Regions from separate parts of the Homo sapiens genome. Here regions 1, 2 and 4 are each linked to region 3. Evidence: promoter capture Hi-C in 16 types of primary human blood cells and fetal thymus (Javierre and others, 2016). All regions are on one chromosome and are shown on one strand. The core of a region is centred on a gene start or on the middle of the fragment in contact, and the rest is flanking DNA. Distances in the headings are between cores, read along the strand shown. Region 1 overlaps CCSER1 (coiled-coil serine rich protein 1). Region 2 overlaps CCSER1 (coiled-coil serine rich protein 1). Region 3 holds the start of CCSER1 (coiled-coil serine rich protein 1). Region 4 has its middle 110 kb from the start of CCSER1.

Region 1 (3,918 bases), core at 788-3,287, 88 kb before region 3:
CAAGGACGTAAAAGATCACTACAAGGAGAACTACAAAACACTGCTAAAAGAAATCACAGATGACAAAAACAAATGGAAAACATCCCATGTTCAAGGGTCGGAAGAATCAATCATTGTTAAAATTGTCATACTGCCAAAGGAAACCTCCAGATTCAATGCTATTCCTGTTGGTTGCCAAGTGACCAACATCATTTATCACAGAATTAGAAGAAAAATGATTCTAAAATTCATATGGAACCGAAAACCAGCCTAAATATCCAAAGAAATCCTAAACAAAAAGAACAAAGCTGGAAGCATCACACTGTACTATGGACTTCAAACTATACTATAATGCTACAGTAGCCAAAACAGGATGGTACTGGTACAAAAAAAGATGCATAGATCAATGAAACAGACTAGAGAACCCAGAAACAAAGTCACACACCTACAGCCATCTGATCTTCAACAAAGTCAATGGAAATCTCTTTTATAAATGATATCTAATACAGAACTGTAATGTGCACATCTTTAATATAAGTTGCTCTGACTGTCACAGTTTTGTAGTTGAAAGATCTTAAAAACATTCCCATCCACTGGACTATCTCAAAAACACTATACACCTCACTTCAATAATGGAAGCTTATGAACTCCAGCTGTAGGGAGAAATCCTTTGAGTCTTTCCTATATTATGCCTTAGTACACAGAAGAAGGAATTTAGAGCAAAACATCTGGCAACTAGTGAAGCGCTTTTCAAATTCAATGCATGAATCAATCACCCAGGAGTAGAGAGAAGTATTGTTAAAAAGCGCATTCTGATTCAGTAGGTCCGGGATTAAGCCTTAAATTCTGCATTTCTAACAAGCTTCCAGGTGATGCAGACGGTGCTGATTCAAGAACCACCACACATTTGAGTAGCAAGGGTCTGTGTTATATAAAAAGTTTCTGCTCCTTTCTACCAACTTATTCAAATCTCTTCAGGGATAAAGAGTGACAAATTTTATCCATCAGAATTTTTCACAGTTGGTGAGCGGAATTCATTAGATATTATCCACGTACATACAGAACACACACACATATTCACACACACTACAAACTCTGTCTTCTGCACCTCCTACATCCTGACCCTGTGCAGGCCCCCACCTCGCCCCTGCCCTTCTCTCCTGCTTCATGTTCTCAGGTAGTAAAGCCTGTTGGACAGTGAGTGGGTTCCAAAGATTAGATCTGGGGTTCCAAAGATTAGATCTGAGGCAGGTTTTCAATTTAGCCTCAGGTCTAAGATACATTTTCCATTGCACCTTTGCCAGAAAGTTCTATATTTTGAAATTATTGGGAACTATCTTGCCCATTATTAAAGCAGATACTTTGACCCACATTTGATCACTAGTGCCCTGTGTATATTTTATCTGTCAAATAGAGCACAGAGGAGTGTGAACTTGCTTTTATTTTTTTTAACCAGGTGTGCATATTTTTAAACTGAGATAAATGGTGTTTTTCCTGAACTTCAAGAAAGTCAGGTGATGTTGAAATCTATACAGTGAAAGCTTACTCACCCCTCATTAAACTTGCTACTATACTAAAGGTCGAAAGTAACTGATTTCACTTCCTGTAAACAAGTAGGTCAAGGACATCCTTTTTGTAGTCAATATGCTTAAGAAATATATACTTTGGTGAAAGGACTTTAATTCACTAAATGCTCACTCAAGTGAAAGACACTTTGAAAACCTTTTACAAAGAAAATATTTTTTATAACTAGCTTTGTAAAGAAAGGCTACAATGTAATCATGTATTGCTGATGATAATGCTTCACTAGTTGGGTATTACATTCAACCTATTTCTCAGGAACGGTGAACATGCTTAGGAGAATCTTTATATAGCTCCTACCTAATCATTTTTAAATAACCTATTTATTTTGATAGAATTCTATTCAACCAGAAAAACATAATGTAAAGAGAAAAATATAGCACTCAAAGCATTAATTCATGACACATTTCTTTAAAATTAATGAGCTGTTAGAATTCATACTCATCTTTCTTCCCTTAATAACAAATCTGTCAAAAAGAATTTACATAACTGTACAATCAAACACAAATTGAAAAACCTAACAGGAATGCTATATTAAAAGGAATAAAATTAGAATAAAATGTAACATTCCTGGAAGAGCATATTTACTAGAATATTCAAAATTCTTTGTAAAAGGTAATGTGATTCACAACAAGGGAATCCTTTAACCTCTCTGGACCTCAGCTTCTTCATTTATAAAAGTAGAAAAATGTTTTTTTAAAGTCTGTTATCTCAAAAGCCTATATGATTGTTCTAATTTCACAATTTACTCTCATCTAGGACTGAATTAGCAGAAACTCTGATTGTGCCTTTGTTATGTAGCAAATCCACTGACTTGGCCAGATCTTACAGTATTTCTTTAGGAAATACATCTACTTTTTATTGCCTTGTAATGACCTAGCAACTGCATGGCTACATGATGTCAAAATAACTGAGAAATTCACAGTTAATTCATTTTTGTGAACAATATTTACTGATTATGCTGAGTGATCACATTTTAGAATCATAAGCTTTAATCTCCAGCGTTTCCCTGGGTGCTCTCCAGCAATCCTATTAGTGCATCCCTAACTCGCCTAGGTGATATATTCATATTCTTTACTCTCCTCTCAAACCTCCAACACCTTCTCCTATTATCCTCACTCTCACATTGGTCTATTACTGAAAACATAGAAGCATTTTGAAAAGAACTTCTATAGACTCCTAGTTCCACATTCCCAATCCACTTGCAACTCTGTCCATGTAATCTCCCTTTCTTACCACTGCTAAAGATAAACACCTCCTGTGTCTATCCAAGGCCAGCTCTCCCATATTTGCACTGCGTTCCATCCCCTCTCAGCAAATTAATCGCCTCATTCCAGAAATTGCATTCCTTCTCCATTACATGGTTAATTTTATCTTCTTTAGATTATTGCCTACAAATTTATTCAGATTATTCCTTATAAACATAATGTATTAACCTTAAAAACAAACAAAAATTCCTTAATCCCTCTCCTCCCTCCAGCTATTGACTTATTCTATTCTCTCTTTTATGGCTAAATCATTCAAAAGCATCTCTCATCCTTTCTGTCTCTACTTCTGTTTTCTCCAATTTTCATTTAAAGATATTCCAGTCAAGTTTTTGTCACCACAATTTCAATGAAGCAGCTTTTGTCCAAGTAATGAATGATCTTCATATTGCTAAGACCACTGCTAAATTCAGTCCTCACCTTATTTAAGAACTAGCATCTGTCAGTGTTGACTAATCCCTTCTTGATGTACTTTCCTTACTTGGCGTCGAGTACAACAAACTCTCCTGGTTTTCCTCCTCACTTCTTGGCTTGTCCCTCACCAAGCATTTGCTGGTTCTTCTTCATAGTTTCCACAATCTCCACAAGTGCACACTCCTCAGAGTTCAGTTCGTGGACCTCTCCTCTTTATTATGTACACCCCTCTGCCAGGTGATCTCACCTAGTTCCACGTGGTAAATGCCCAGCTATATACCGTGGACTTCCAAATCTCTATCCCCAGCCCAGATCTAGCCTGTGAAATCCAGAATCACATATTCTATGGCCTACTCAACATTTTCACTTAGATGTCCAATAGACATCTCAACCTTACCACATCCCAAAGGAAATACCTGGTTTTCCTCCAAATACTTGCTCATCTCACAATCTCCTTCCCCATCTCAGAAAATGGCAATTCCATATTTACAGTCCAATCTAAAAACCAGGCATCCTATGTCCCTTTCTCACACACTTCATATTAATCCTCTAGCAATTCCTTATGACTCTCTCTCCACTGCTACCACCCTGTCAGCTACCATTGCTTTCTCCTGATTACCCTGCTATCAGGGTATTTTCAACACTGATGCCAGAGTGCACCTGTCAAATCAGAAGTCAG
Region 2 (3,959 bases), core at 1,126-3,625, 110 kb before region 3:
TATGTAGTAGAAAGGGCCTGGGCTTTGAGGATGTGCAATCTAAGATTTGTATCTCTGTTCATTACTTTTGGCTGTATGACCTTGTGCAAGTCCCTTGTGGTGTTTGAACTTGTATTTAAAACTTACAACAGGTCCTGAATAATTTGTATCTTAGTGAAACGATCAGTAAAAACAACTAATTGTGTGCATATCAGTCACATACCTAGTGGACACTCAATAAACGTGCTCTATAATTAATTGTTATCCTTATAACCAAAGGGGAAAAATCATTTTTGTAAGCTTAGTTTTCACAGAGCCATGGAAATGATGCATTTTGTGGTTATCTGCTAACTGATAGCTTACTACATTGTTCACTAGGTTCATGTTCTTGTCCATCATTTTATTATCTCTTCAATACACTCATTTATTATCATCATCCTTTTCATATGCTTTTTTGTTCTAAATAAATTGTATACTTTTGACTCAATTATTTTGTACATTTCTTCGTACTATAGTATAAAAAATATCAACAGTTTAAAAGCTACAGATTTTAAGTTCCTTAACATTGGGAATAGTGCCTAAGAGTACTCCTAGGTCCACTACATTTATGCTTTGTTCTTTTCTTTTCTTTTCTTTTTGAGACGGAGTCTTGCTCTGTAGCCCAGGCTAGAGTGCACTGGCACAATCTCGGCTCACTGCAAGCTCCGTCTCCCATGCTCAGATGATTCTCCTGCCTCAACCTCCCAAGTAACTGGGATTACAGGCATGCACCACCATGCCCAGCTAATTTTTTTTATTTTTAGTAAGACCGGATTTCACCATGTTGGCCAGGCTGGTCTTGAACTCCTGACCTCAAGTGATCTGCCCACCTCGGCTTCCAAAAGTGCTGGGATTATAGGTGGGAGCCACTGCGCCCAGCCTATGCTTTGTTATTTTCATGGTAGATAAAGGTAAATTCATTCACAGATCTTAAATTCAGGGTTAGTAGATTTAACTAACTAGATTTGATGATAGAAGATTCTTAGAATACAATTTCATACCAAAGCATATTTCTTGTCCTATAATCATTCCATTACTAATTTTATAGATATGAATCATAATAGTTTTTATAGCATCACCTATTTTCCATATTACAATTAAACCATTTGTACTTAAGTATTAGTTTCTCAATGTTAATGCTCCTGCAACACTCTTAAAAATGTAATTGCTAACAATTTATCTGTTGGATTTATTCATGTTGGCATTTTTTTAACCACGTGTATCCCTTTCCTTCTTTTCCCTAAAGAAAAAAAAATAACACCCTAAGGAAAGATTACAAATCCAAAGCAAATTGTCAAAGGAATAACAGTGTTTCTAGAAAGGATTTTTTTTCTTTTAAGAAAGAATAAATGATGTATAACAAAAGTGTTCTGGCTGCTAGGAAAATAAAATGTGATTGCCATTGGTAATTCCTATGTTAAAGCAACAATAGACATAAATATTGTGAATGATTTACCATCTAGCTGTTACTGTCGTTCATAATAAACCACCATTATCTAGGAATTATTAATATGTATCTTTGTAAATATCATATTTGATACCGGCATGCACCTCTTTACCTGTCTCTTACGTATACATAATATATAATAGTTGGCAACTCATTCATACATGATTACAACAGTATATGAACATGAAAGTAAATGATAGCACCTATAAAGCACCAGAAAGCAGTCACTAATAACATTTTCTCACCTAAACCACAATAGTGGTTGTACTAATAACAGAGAAAAACAATGACTGACTAGTAACAAATTGATCTATGCACTCGCATGCTCCTTAGTGCCCTATCATCAATATTGCTCTTTAGCTTTGTGAAATGAACTATGTGCTATTACTAGTGCACACTCTGGGGCTAAACAGTTTCCTCACTTGCTTATAAAAGTGATTTAAATGGTTTTAATTAGAATAGAGTCTATTGATACACCATGAATTCCTTTGACTAAAGCTGCTCAAACACTCAAAGAATTTGAGCATATTTACAGTGGTATATGTAGACAGGCTTTCATTCCCACTGCAGAGAGCTATAGGTGGTGTCTTTGAAGGATATGGTGAAAAATAAGCACAGGCCTAAGATCAGCTACTGAAAACTAGGATAATGTGACTAATCCAGATGGACAAGTCCAAGGGGCTAAAATTGGGCACCTGAAAGCAACATGACATTCTTACGGCATTTAGAGTTGTCATTTTTGCCACAATATTAGCTATAACCAGCACCTAAATGTAAGGCAATGTGTGCTAGTTATGAATTAATTGCCTCCCAGCTCCAAATGCACTTTTCCACAAATATATGTCCTATGATCATAGATAGAATTCTTTTAAGTATTTCTTCTTTACAATGGGTGTGATGCTGAGTGTTCCCAGTAGAGGAAGCTGGAGGGACACTGCAGGAGGAAGGGGCTCTTCCATGACTTCTGGTGACACAGGAGTCAGTGATTTGGGTAGAGGTGTGAGGACATTCAGTGTAGCCCTGCCAAGCCATGCAGGGTATAAGAACGTGTGGTTGCTTGCCAATCTTGCAGTCTCAAGCTAGAGACAATCTTCCCAAGGCCTTCTCCAGAAAGAAATGCCCATCAGAGTCAGAATTCCCTCTGTAGGGCTATGGGCCATCTACCTGAAGCCCCCTCCCCTCTGGCAGTCCTCCTGAGTCCTACTGAGTCCACTACAGGCCCCATACTCTTCCCTGGAGGGTGCTCATGTCCTCTGAAACATAGCCACTGGTTTGGTTATCCATGCCGACTATTCTACTGGCCGCCAGCTTGCCCCATGACTATGGGCCATCTCTGGATGCTCAGCCAAACTCGAAAACTTCTCTGCTCTCCAGTGAGATGAATTACACCTTCTCTTTAAGATCTGATCCTCTTCCAAGTTTGTCATTCTTTGGTTACACTCCTTTAGCTTCAGGGTACCACTTAGGTTTCTCTATATCTTAGAGAGAAGTTACTCTTTTGTCATACTTTAATAATATTTTTAAATTAAACTCACTAGTTTAACCTACTATGTGGTTTTCCTCTTCAAAGTGGACTAGTTGATACACAATTCTTCTAAAACTTGGTATTGAATCAATCTGATTATGATTCACATTTGGAAATAATTACAAGCTACAACTAAGAACAAATAAAAATACAGAATTGGGGCAGGTGCAGGATCGTGCCTATAATCCCAGTACTTTGGGAGGCTGAAGCAGGAGTCACTTGAGACCAGGCGTTCGAGATTAGACTGAGCAACAATGCAAGAGCCCACATTTACAAAAAAAAATTAAAAATAATTAGCTGAGCATAGTGGTGGCTAAGGCAGGAGGACTGTTTGTGCCCAGGAGTTGGAAGCTGCAGTGAACCATAATTGTACCACTGCTCTCCAGCCTAAGTGACAGAGTGAGACTCTGCCTCTAATATATATATAACAGATCAATCTATTTAAAAGGAAAAATCAGTTGACTACACATTACAGTATCAAGTAAATGAGTTATTTTGAATATTAGCTAATAGTAGGGCTTAAATTTCAAATACATAGTGGCAATTTTTTACATTAACGTGCTGATCTTTCTATGTCAAAGATCAATGCATAAAGTGCAGTATATGTCTCAGTATCACTGAAGTGATCAATATAACTGACTGTAGCCTTCAAAATTGGTGTTGTTTACAAAGATTAACTCCTATGGGATGTATGTTTATTGTTTCCTAATTAAAGTCCAAGTGTGCTTTTAATCATGTTAAACAACTACTCAAAAAATGTGTTTTTGTTATTGACTAAAACTTTCTGGCTGGGCACGGTGGCTCACACCTGTCCCAACACTTTGGGAGGCCCAGGCAGGCGGATCACCTGCGGTCAGGAGTTCGGAACCAGCCTGGCCAACATGGTAAAACCCCGTCTCTACTAAAAATACAAAAATTAGCTGGGTGTGGTGGCAGATGCCTGTAATCCCAGCTACTCAGAAGGCTGAG
Region 3 (3,817 bases), core at 1,244-3,743:
AGGTAATAACCCTCCGAATGGGGTTCTCCATCTGAGTTCTAACCTAATATTTAAAGCTGCACATGCTTCCGTGTTGAAAATGTATTTCAAAGTAATATAAATCTAACAAAATCAAAATATCAAATCCTTAACTCTGCTTTGTTTTTCAAAGAACAGGACTGTTTAGGAAAGCAATAAAACAATACAAACAACAGTTGGTTTGTTTTGATCAAAATAACTAATTAATTTAAATGAAGACAAATCACTCTGACAATAGGTTGACCAACTTCTCTTTTTTCTCTGTGAAACTATTGAAAGTGTGGTTACAACATGGAATTTCAATATTTGAAAAACATTGTCTTGGCAGGCTTTTAGAGACATTTCAGTTTGCAATATTAAGGATACTGTCCTACTACTAAACCCAGTCACAGTTCTATAAAAGTACAGGTTGCTACTTTTAAGAGAAAACATTCATTTTATAAGCACCGTGACAGGCACTGTCCCAAGGCATCTTTAAGTTTCAAGTTACGTATCTGGAACATGTACCTGTTATAAAGCAAACAGAAAGAGAAACCAAGACAAATTATATTATAGCCTAGATTACCAGTATTTTAGGTCTTCCCTTAATAACCAGTTTTGAAGGAACCAGTGATAACTGACCCCCACCTAGGTGTCCTCTTATCCGTTTTCCCTAAGGCTGTTAATAAAACCAGCTTTACTTTAAACGTGTACACATTATTTTTAATAGTCCTTGAGGGGCAGAGAAGGGAGGATGTGTGTTACATTTCAATAGGAAGGTATTCAACTGTAAAGATTTCAGAAATGAAAGCTGTTGAAACCAAGTAGGTATTTTCTGACTTGTAAGTCCTACTGACTGCCTGAAAAGGTAAGAGGGGTGGAGAAGAGGACATAAAAACATTAAAGGGCAAAGAATCTGTAACTTCTAAGAAGTATTTTTTTCTACCTGTAAAAATATGAGTTTTTTTTTTACTTCATTTCATATTCCATGTCCCACGAGAGGAAGGGGAAGCATAATTGCTTCTAATTCTGAGGCAGGGAGAGGAGAGAGAGAGAGAGAGAAAGAGAGCAGTTCAGGATACACTAAAAGGAAACCCCAAGAAATTTCACAACTCTTTGCCATAAATAGCCTTTCTTCTCACTCTGGATACCTCCTCCTTTACATCAGCAAGGCTCAGCCTCCACGCACGCAGAAGCACCATTCACAAATCCCTCCGTCACCCTTACCCCTTGCTGGCACCGTGTGTACGAGTCCCTGGGACACAAGCCAAAAGTCGAAGGGGCCAGGGGGCCACATGCGGTTTCAGCTTACGGCTGACTTTCTGCTCAGGTGAACCAACCCACTGGTTAGTCCAGAGCGCGCGCGCGCGCGCACACACACACACACACACACACGCACACAACCTGGGGCCCTTGACGCTCCACCACAAAGCAAGTGGTTCAATCTAAGTCGCTGCCGTTACTGCTGCCTCTGGGCAGGGTCTTGCTTCCAATCCAGGAAACTGGCGCCAGAGGACAAGCAGGCGGAGGCAAGAGGTGGTCCCGGCCCCGCACTGCGGTTCCTCCGGGAGCCCCTGGCTCCCCGCCCCCTCCTCCCCTTCCCCCTCTTCGCCGCCGTCCCCGCCTCAGCACCCGCAGCCCGGGGCGCCAGCGCTGACCGGTCGCCTCTACCTGCGGGACGCGAGTGGCGAGGAAGGGGAGCGACCCGAAGCCTGCGCCAACTCTCGCCGCCTTGGCCAGCGCTCCGCATCGCCCTGGAGCGGCCGCCGCGGCCGCAGGCAGCAAACCACGCAGCAGCGTGGAGGAAATGGCCACGCGGCGCACTGGGAGTCGCGGGCCGGTGGTGAGCGAGCCCGCCCGCCTCCTTCCCACCCCGCCCGCAAGGCCAGGTCTCTGCGCCGAGCACGCCGGGCCTGGGCGCGCGCTGCTCGCAGGCGGCCCCGACACGGCGCGGTCACCTGCCGAGCGGTCATCCCCGCGTCCGCCTGCGGCCGGCCCCGCAAAGCGGCGACGCGACGCGCGACCCGCTGAGCGCTGAGGCACCAGGGGCGTTACTACCTTGAGGGCTCCGTGCGCTTGTTAAGGCTCCTCCCGGGCACTCAGGGATTTATGTCTTCGGGGCACGGGGGTGTCCTTCCTGGTCCCCCTCCTCTGCCCTCCCTCCCCTTCTCGGCTGTTGGGCTCCTCTCCACTCCCAGTTGCACAGAGTCCAGCTGCGTTATTTAATAATCCTCCTGCTCCTCCTGCCTGCGCCAGCGGAGCTGCTCTGCCCGAGCCACCGCTTCCCAGTCAGTCATGTTGAGACAGAGAGAGAGAGAGAGGAGAGGCGGATTGGCAGTAGGTCGGCGACTATTTGTGGTGAGGGAGAGAAGAGCAGAGCAAGAGGAGGGCAGGGGAGGGACGTGGGGAGGCGCTTCCAAGTGTGTGAGTGCGCGGAGTGTGACTGTGTGGGGAGCGCGAGATCCACCTCCCCGGCAGGCCGCGCTCCGGGGCTGTGAGGAGGGCGGGCCCAAGCGCGGCCTTTATACAAGGAGGAGTGTGGTGGGCTGGGCGGGGCGGCTTGGAGGGCGGTGCCCGGCCCACTGCGTCCGCCGGATTCCACGCACGCATCCTCTGGCATCGACGCGCGCACACCCACTGCTGGCCCGCTGCTGAGTTTTCATTTTAGGGGAAGCAGTATCCCACCGTGCTGACCTGGCCTTTTCCCCCAGTCCATCCTAGTGCTTATGTGGAGTTCAAGTGCATAGGCAGGTCAAGACTAAAGAATAGGGGAAGTCTGAAGAGACGTGAAGTGACTGCGGGGATGCTGGAAATAAATGCACTGTATTTCTCCTCTCCAAGGTTCCGATGTTATCTTTTTTCTCTTCCTCCTGTAAGGGAAGGAATTACCAGATTCTTTCGCCGCTTTTCCTTCTCACCCACACAATTCACATCCTGACAAGTGTCTTCATTCCTCAGTAACAAGAAAAGAAACCTAGCTTCTTTCCTTTAAGCAGGTCACACCTCCCAGGAACCATTTGCAGCAATCAATTCTGTAAGATAATGCAAGCACTGCGACTGTGTCCGAGAGTGGAACTTGTGTTCCTACAAGGAAGGCCCTACACAATACAGGCATTACAAGAGAATCAGCTCAATTTGACATCATTTGACTGATGGTCCCCTGGAGAAAATTTGCCAGTTTAGAAATCGAAAAGACTTTTGATGCATGGTTCTGTTGCCTACATAATTTATTTTCCCCTGATCCTCTCTCCCCTTGCACTGCCTCATTTCCTTTCAGGTTTACACTAAGTACTGAACTCTTTCCCATCCATCCCCTTCTTTATCTCCACTCCAGTATATTTATGCCTTTAGCAGGCAATACAGCAAATGTAGTGCATTTAATTCTGTGTGTGTGTGTGTGTGTGTGTGCGCGCGCGCATCTGTTTTTAACCCATTCTGGTAGAATGTAGGACCATTTCTAGGTAGAAAATGCATCCCCAATATTAAGTTTGTACGCCTAACATCACCTCCCTTACCTTCTGCCCAGATTACAAGATGTTGTGATCAGGTGCACTGAGGTATTGAGAAAAACTTCCAGAAATCAAGTGATCTACAGTTTTTTCAAGGTGTGTTTGTGTGTGCGCGTGCGCGTGCGCACGCTCTGTGTAATCTAACTGGCTATGATCTAACTTCTGAAATGTGGTTATATTGGGAATAAAAGCAAGATGTATTTTTTAAATGAATCTGAGTGGTCAATGTATATTACAGCATGGGGACAACTCTGCTTTTGGGAGACAATTATAGGAAACATTTTTCATAAATTAGACAAAAGGAAGATAAG
Region 4 (4,204 bases), core at 727-3,226, 110 kb after region 3:
CAAAAACTCAGTTGTAATTCTTCCACTTATATATAGGGCTGAAGTCTCTAGAATATAGTTAGACTTCCTCTGAAGGATAAGGAGAGTTTTGGATGGAGTGAGATGCCCTCGTGGTACTATGCTTTATTTTCAGGAAGAGAAAACAGACAAGTCTTACTGCCACTGGAAATCTTGCTAGTGGCCTCCCTTATAGGGCTACTTCCAGTTTGCTGTGTGAAGGCAATGTGACTATGCTCTTTAACCTCACTTTGAATATCCAGGAAGTGCTCTGGGGTGAGTGGCAGTCCCATGCCATTATTAAGATAAAGAATTCTGGGGTTTTTTTGTTTTTTCATTTTTTTCCATTTTCTAGGTTATTTTGTTTTCCTATGAAATCTAGTGGTGCAGAGTAGTTAGTTATAATACTCGCTGATGCTTTGCATTTTCAAGCAAGGTAAGATTCTATAGTCAGAGGTGATTTTTAGTTTTTTAAAATTAAATAAGTTTTGTTTATTTTTTTGAGACAGAGGCTGGCTCTGTTGCCCAGGCTGGAGTGCAGTGAGTGGCTAACTGCAACCACTGCCTCCCTGGTTCAAGCAGTTCTCCTGCCTCAGCCTCCCGAGTAGCTGAGACTACAGGCACCTGCCACAATGCCTGGTTAATTTTTTGTATTTTGGCAGAGATGGGGTTTCACCATGTTGCCCAGGCTAGTCTCAAACTCCTGAACTCAGGCAATCTGCCTGCCTAGGGCCTCCCAAAGTGCTAGGATTACAGGCATGTGCCACTGCACCTGGCCTATTTTTTTTTTTTTTTTTGGTAAAATTAAGTTAATTTTATAGAGTAGCCATATGTAAAGAAAAATATCATGACCAGTTGTGTTCAGACAGATCTATGGTTATAATATACATTTTCTTAGTGGATAAATGTCCAAGGTATTGGAAAACTTTAGGACCGAAGTCCTGCAGATTTTGATCGACAGCATCAATTGTTTCTAAAACATCCTATATGCTCCTGCATTGTTCCACCATATTCCATGGACGGTTTTTCAAACAGACACTTGATCACACTTTCCATCTAGTCTAGCTCTATCTTGGTCCACACATCCACCCTGTGCCCTCCAGTAGCTGAGCATTTCTCTAATCCATACATTTAGCATTGTAGGTGAGAGGACAATCTCAGGATGATGTAACTGATTAACCCTGGTGGCACAGTGCCCATGATGCTCCTAAGCCTTCAAACTGTAATTTGAGGGTCTATTTCATGGCAATTCAAGAAAATGTTCCCTCTCTTGAGAAGAAACAAAATGGAGTTCATATTATAGTAAACTTTCTTCCATAATACTTTAACCAGGTATGTACTAAGTTATAAAATTATAATTAACCAATCCTGCAATGTACTTCTGCCACAGCATCTAGATTACCAATGACTTTTCCCAGTACATTCTTGAGGCTTTCCTATCAATAACTAAGGGATGAAGATAGGTGTGAAATGGAGAGAAAGTCTCATTCACCTATTTAGGTTAAGTGCCGTGCCTTGGCTTGATTTACAGTCTTATCAAGACCACACAAAATTGGGTCGTGACAATTTCCTAAAATGAATTTTGGCTGCTTTTGCCAGAAGAAGAGGGATTAGGAAGGTCTACAAAAACCTAAATGTCTGCACCTTCAGCTTCTGGCTACTGAACTTGAATCAATTCATTTTTTTCCCCTTGTCTCTTAGATGGTTTAAAATACCCACCTTCACAGTACACACACATCATTCTTTTCTAGAATTTTATCATATCCTCTTTGTATCAAAGGGATTCGGCTACAAAGATTTCTCTAAATAGCAAAGAATGGATTTATTTCAAGGATAAACCAGATAAAGTATTCTTCCCTCAAAATCAACATGCAACTAAGGATCTCTTCGTATTTTTGAGTTAAGTGAATATAAACTGTTGCTCCTCAAGAGATATTAGTGTGTAACAAGAATAGCTGTAGTGAATTTCTATTGGCTAATTAAAGTAATCTTTCATATAAGTGTGCATTTTTAATAACATCACCATTAAACATAAAAATGAGACAGGGTAGAAATCCTTTGATTGTGATTGATACTCTTAGAAAAAAGACGAGAATAAAATATATTTTATTTTAAACAACAGGACCTTCATCTTCAGGAAAAGCTGAGTGACAAAAATTAATATTCATTATAAGTAACTCTGAAAAGCGATCTGGACATCAGTTTACACACATCTGGAAGGAACTAAAGTCTAGTAATGAGAAATAATGCACTTGTGAAGCATACAATCAGATATAGATTAATACTACTTTACTGCATTTGTCAGGTCAGCACAAATAAATTATGAATCCTCTTAGAGAGCTGAGAAAAAGTGATTTCCTTTAAAATAGAAACTATTATTAATATGCTAATAATGTGTGACTGATGAAATCTATAATTCTAATCATATATGGAACAGTATAGGCTATATTTAGATGCTTAGTTAGTAGTTATATATTAAAATAGAAGGAATGATTTTTAAATGTTTGTTTCCAAAACAAATGATGATTTCCACTCACATTTAATGTCAATGAAATCTTGAGTTTATTCATAATAATCTGTGTATGAAGTATACATAAAAAACACATTTCATTTTTGAGGTTAAAATAATTTATATATTACTTTCAGATCAAAATACACAACAATAAGAAAAATAATTTTAAGAATAATCTGCAATTTATTTTGAACAAATCTGAATACTGGTTAAAAAATATTTCAAACTTTATTAGAAGTTTAAAATATCAGATTTAAATTATTTCAAACAAAAGATACTGCTACAAAACTCAGTGTGAAAGACTGTTGCTGGATTCATAAATGTAATGGAATTGCACTATTGAGCTACCTCATATTGAGAGTATTAAGAATATAAAATAATTACTGGTGTATTTATTTATTTTTATTCATTTATTTTTTAAGTACACCATTTCTGGTATATTTAAACTCATTTTCACTTCTCATAAATTGCCTCTAAAGAATGTATTTACAAAGCATTAAGGACCTGTGGACCTGCTTATCCAAAAAATGTCCACTAGGTTTATGAGACTGGACAGTTCACCATGCCAGTGGTAATGCATACAGAAATCTGGCTGGCTGAAAAATCTTACGAAAATCACTCAACTTCTCTGGTCTCATATTTCTGATTGGCAGAGCACTAGGATTTCTAAAAGTTCTATTTTAGCTGATATCTATAAAAGGAAGATGATGGGAGCATTGGTATGGCAAATGAGGATCAGAGATCTCTATAAATCATAAGTGGAGGATAAACAAACTTTGTAATGCTCTTCTTTATCCCAGTAACTCCTCTTGCTTTGAATTCTGCTGTCTAAGTTTAATATGGCCACTACTGCTTTCTTTGGGTTAGTGTTAACATAGTAAATTTTTCTCTGTCCAAAGTGAGTTTCTTGTAGACAACATATAGCTGAGTTTTATTTTTTGATACACTCTGACAATCTCTGTCTTTTAATTGGTATATTTAGGCCATTTATATTTAAAATAAATATCTACCATATTTGTTATTGTTTTTAATTTGTTCCCCTTGTTCTTTGTTCCTATTTTTGTCTTCTGCTCCTTTCTGCCTTTTGTGGTTTGGGGTATTTTATATGATTTTATTTTCTTTCTGTTCTTAGCATATCAGTTATACTTCTTTTTTTCCCCCGTTTCTTCCCGAGAACTTGCAACATACATTTACAACTAATTTAAGCCCACTTTCAAATAATATTTTACCACTTAATGGGTAATGTGAGAACCATATAATAACAAGACAATCCTAATTCTCCCTCTTGTCCCTTGTATCATTACTGGCATTCATTGCACTTACATATAAGCATACATATGCAGATGTACTAAAATACATTGCTGCCATTATTATTTTGAACACACTGTCGTCTGTTAGATCAATTAAGAATAAGAAAAATAAGTTTTTATTTTACCTTCACTTATTCTATCTTTGGTGCTATTCCTTTCTTTATATAGATCTGAGTTTTTATCTATATTATTGTTTTTCTCTCTAAGAGACATTTCTTTTAACATATCTTGTAAAGCAGATCTGCTAGAAAGACATTCCCTCAATTTTTATTTGTCTGAGAAACTATTTCTCCTTCACTTCTAAAGGATAATTTTGCAGAGTATGGAATTCTAGGTTGGTTCTGTCCTCAATGTTTTAAATATTTTATTCCTCCTGTTATTGCTT

What was found. Contacts are between HindIII fragments. The CHiCAGO score rates a contact against its expected background, and 5 or more counts as called.
Region 1: a contact is called between a fragment that was not itself captured here and the fragment with the promoter of CCSER1 in region 3, in 1 of 17 cell types (M2 macrophages). The highest score is 7.6, in M2 macrophages.
Region 2: a fragment that was not itself captured here is called in contact with the fragment with the promoter of CCSER1 in region 3 in 1 of 17 cell types (M2 macrophages); the score reaches 6.4 in M2 macrophages.
Region 4: a fragment that was not itself captured here is called in contact with the fragment with the promoter of CCSER1 in region 3 in 1 of 17 cell types (total B cells); the score reaches 5.3 in total B cells.

What each region holds. Positions count from the first base shown.
Region 1 is chr4:90,213,088-90,217,005 of GRCh38, reverse strand. The region is part of intron 1 of CCSER1 (coiled-coil serine rich protein 1); the gene reads right to left. Among named protein-coding and RNA genes, the nearest start is that of CCSER1, 88 kb to the right of the region's middle. The HindIII fragment of the contact is 1,029 bases long and covers 1,523-2,551 here.
Region 2 is chr4:90,238,965-90,242,923 of GRCh38, reverse strand. All of the region lies in intron 1 of CCSER1 (coiled-coil serine rich protein 1), which reads right to left. Among named protein-coding and RNA genes, the nearest start is that of CCSER1, 110 kb to the right of the region's middle. The HindIII fragment of the contact is 4,187 bases long and covers 282-3,959 here.
Region 3 is chr4:90,126,070-90,129,886 of GRCh38, reverse strand. CCSER1 (coiled-coil serine rich protein 1) reads right to left here and starts at 2,493. Exons shown (of 11, transcript NM_001145065.2): 1 at 2,056-2,493. RefSeq lists silencers at 1,376-1,625, 1,736-1,935. The HindIII fragment of the contact is 6,776 bases long and covers 1-3,817 here.
Region 4 is chr4:90,017,878-90,022,081 of GRCh38, reverse strand. No RefSeq gene overlaps it. Among named protein-coding and RNA genes, the nearest start is that of CCSER1, 110 kb to the left of the region's middle. The HindIII fragment of the contact is 6,025 bases long and covers 1-4,204 here.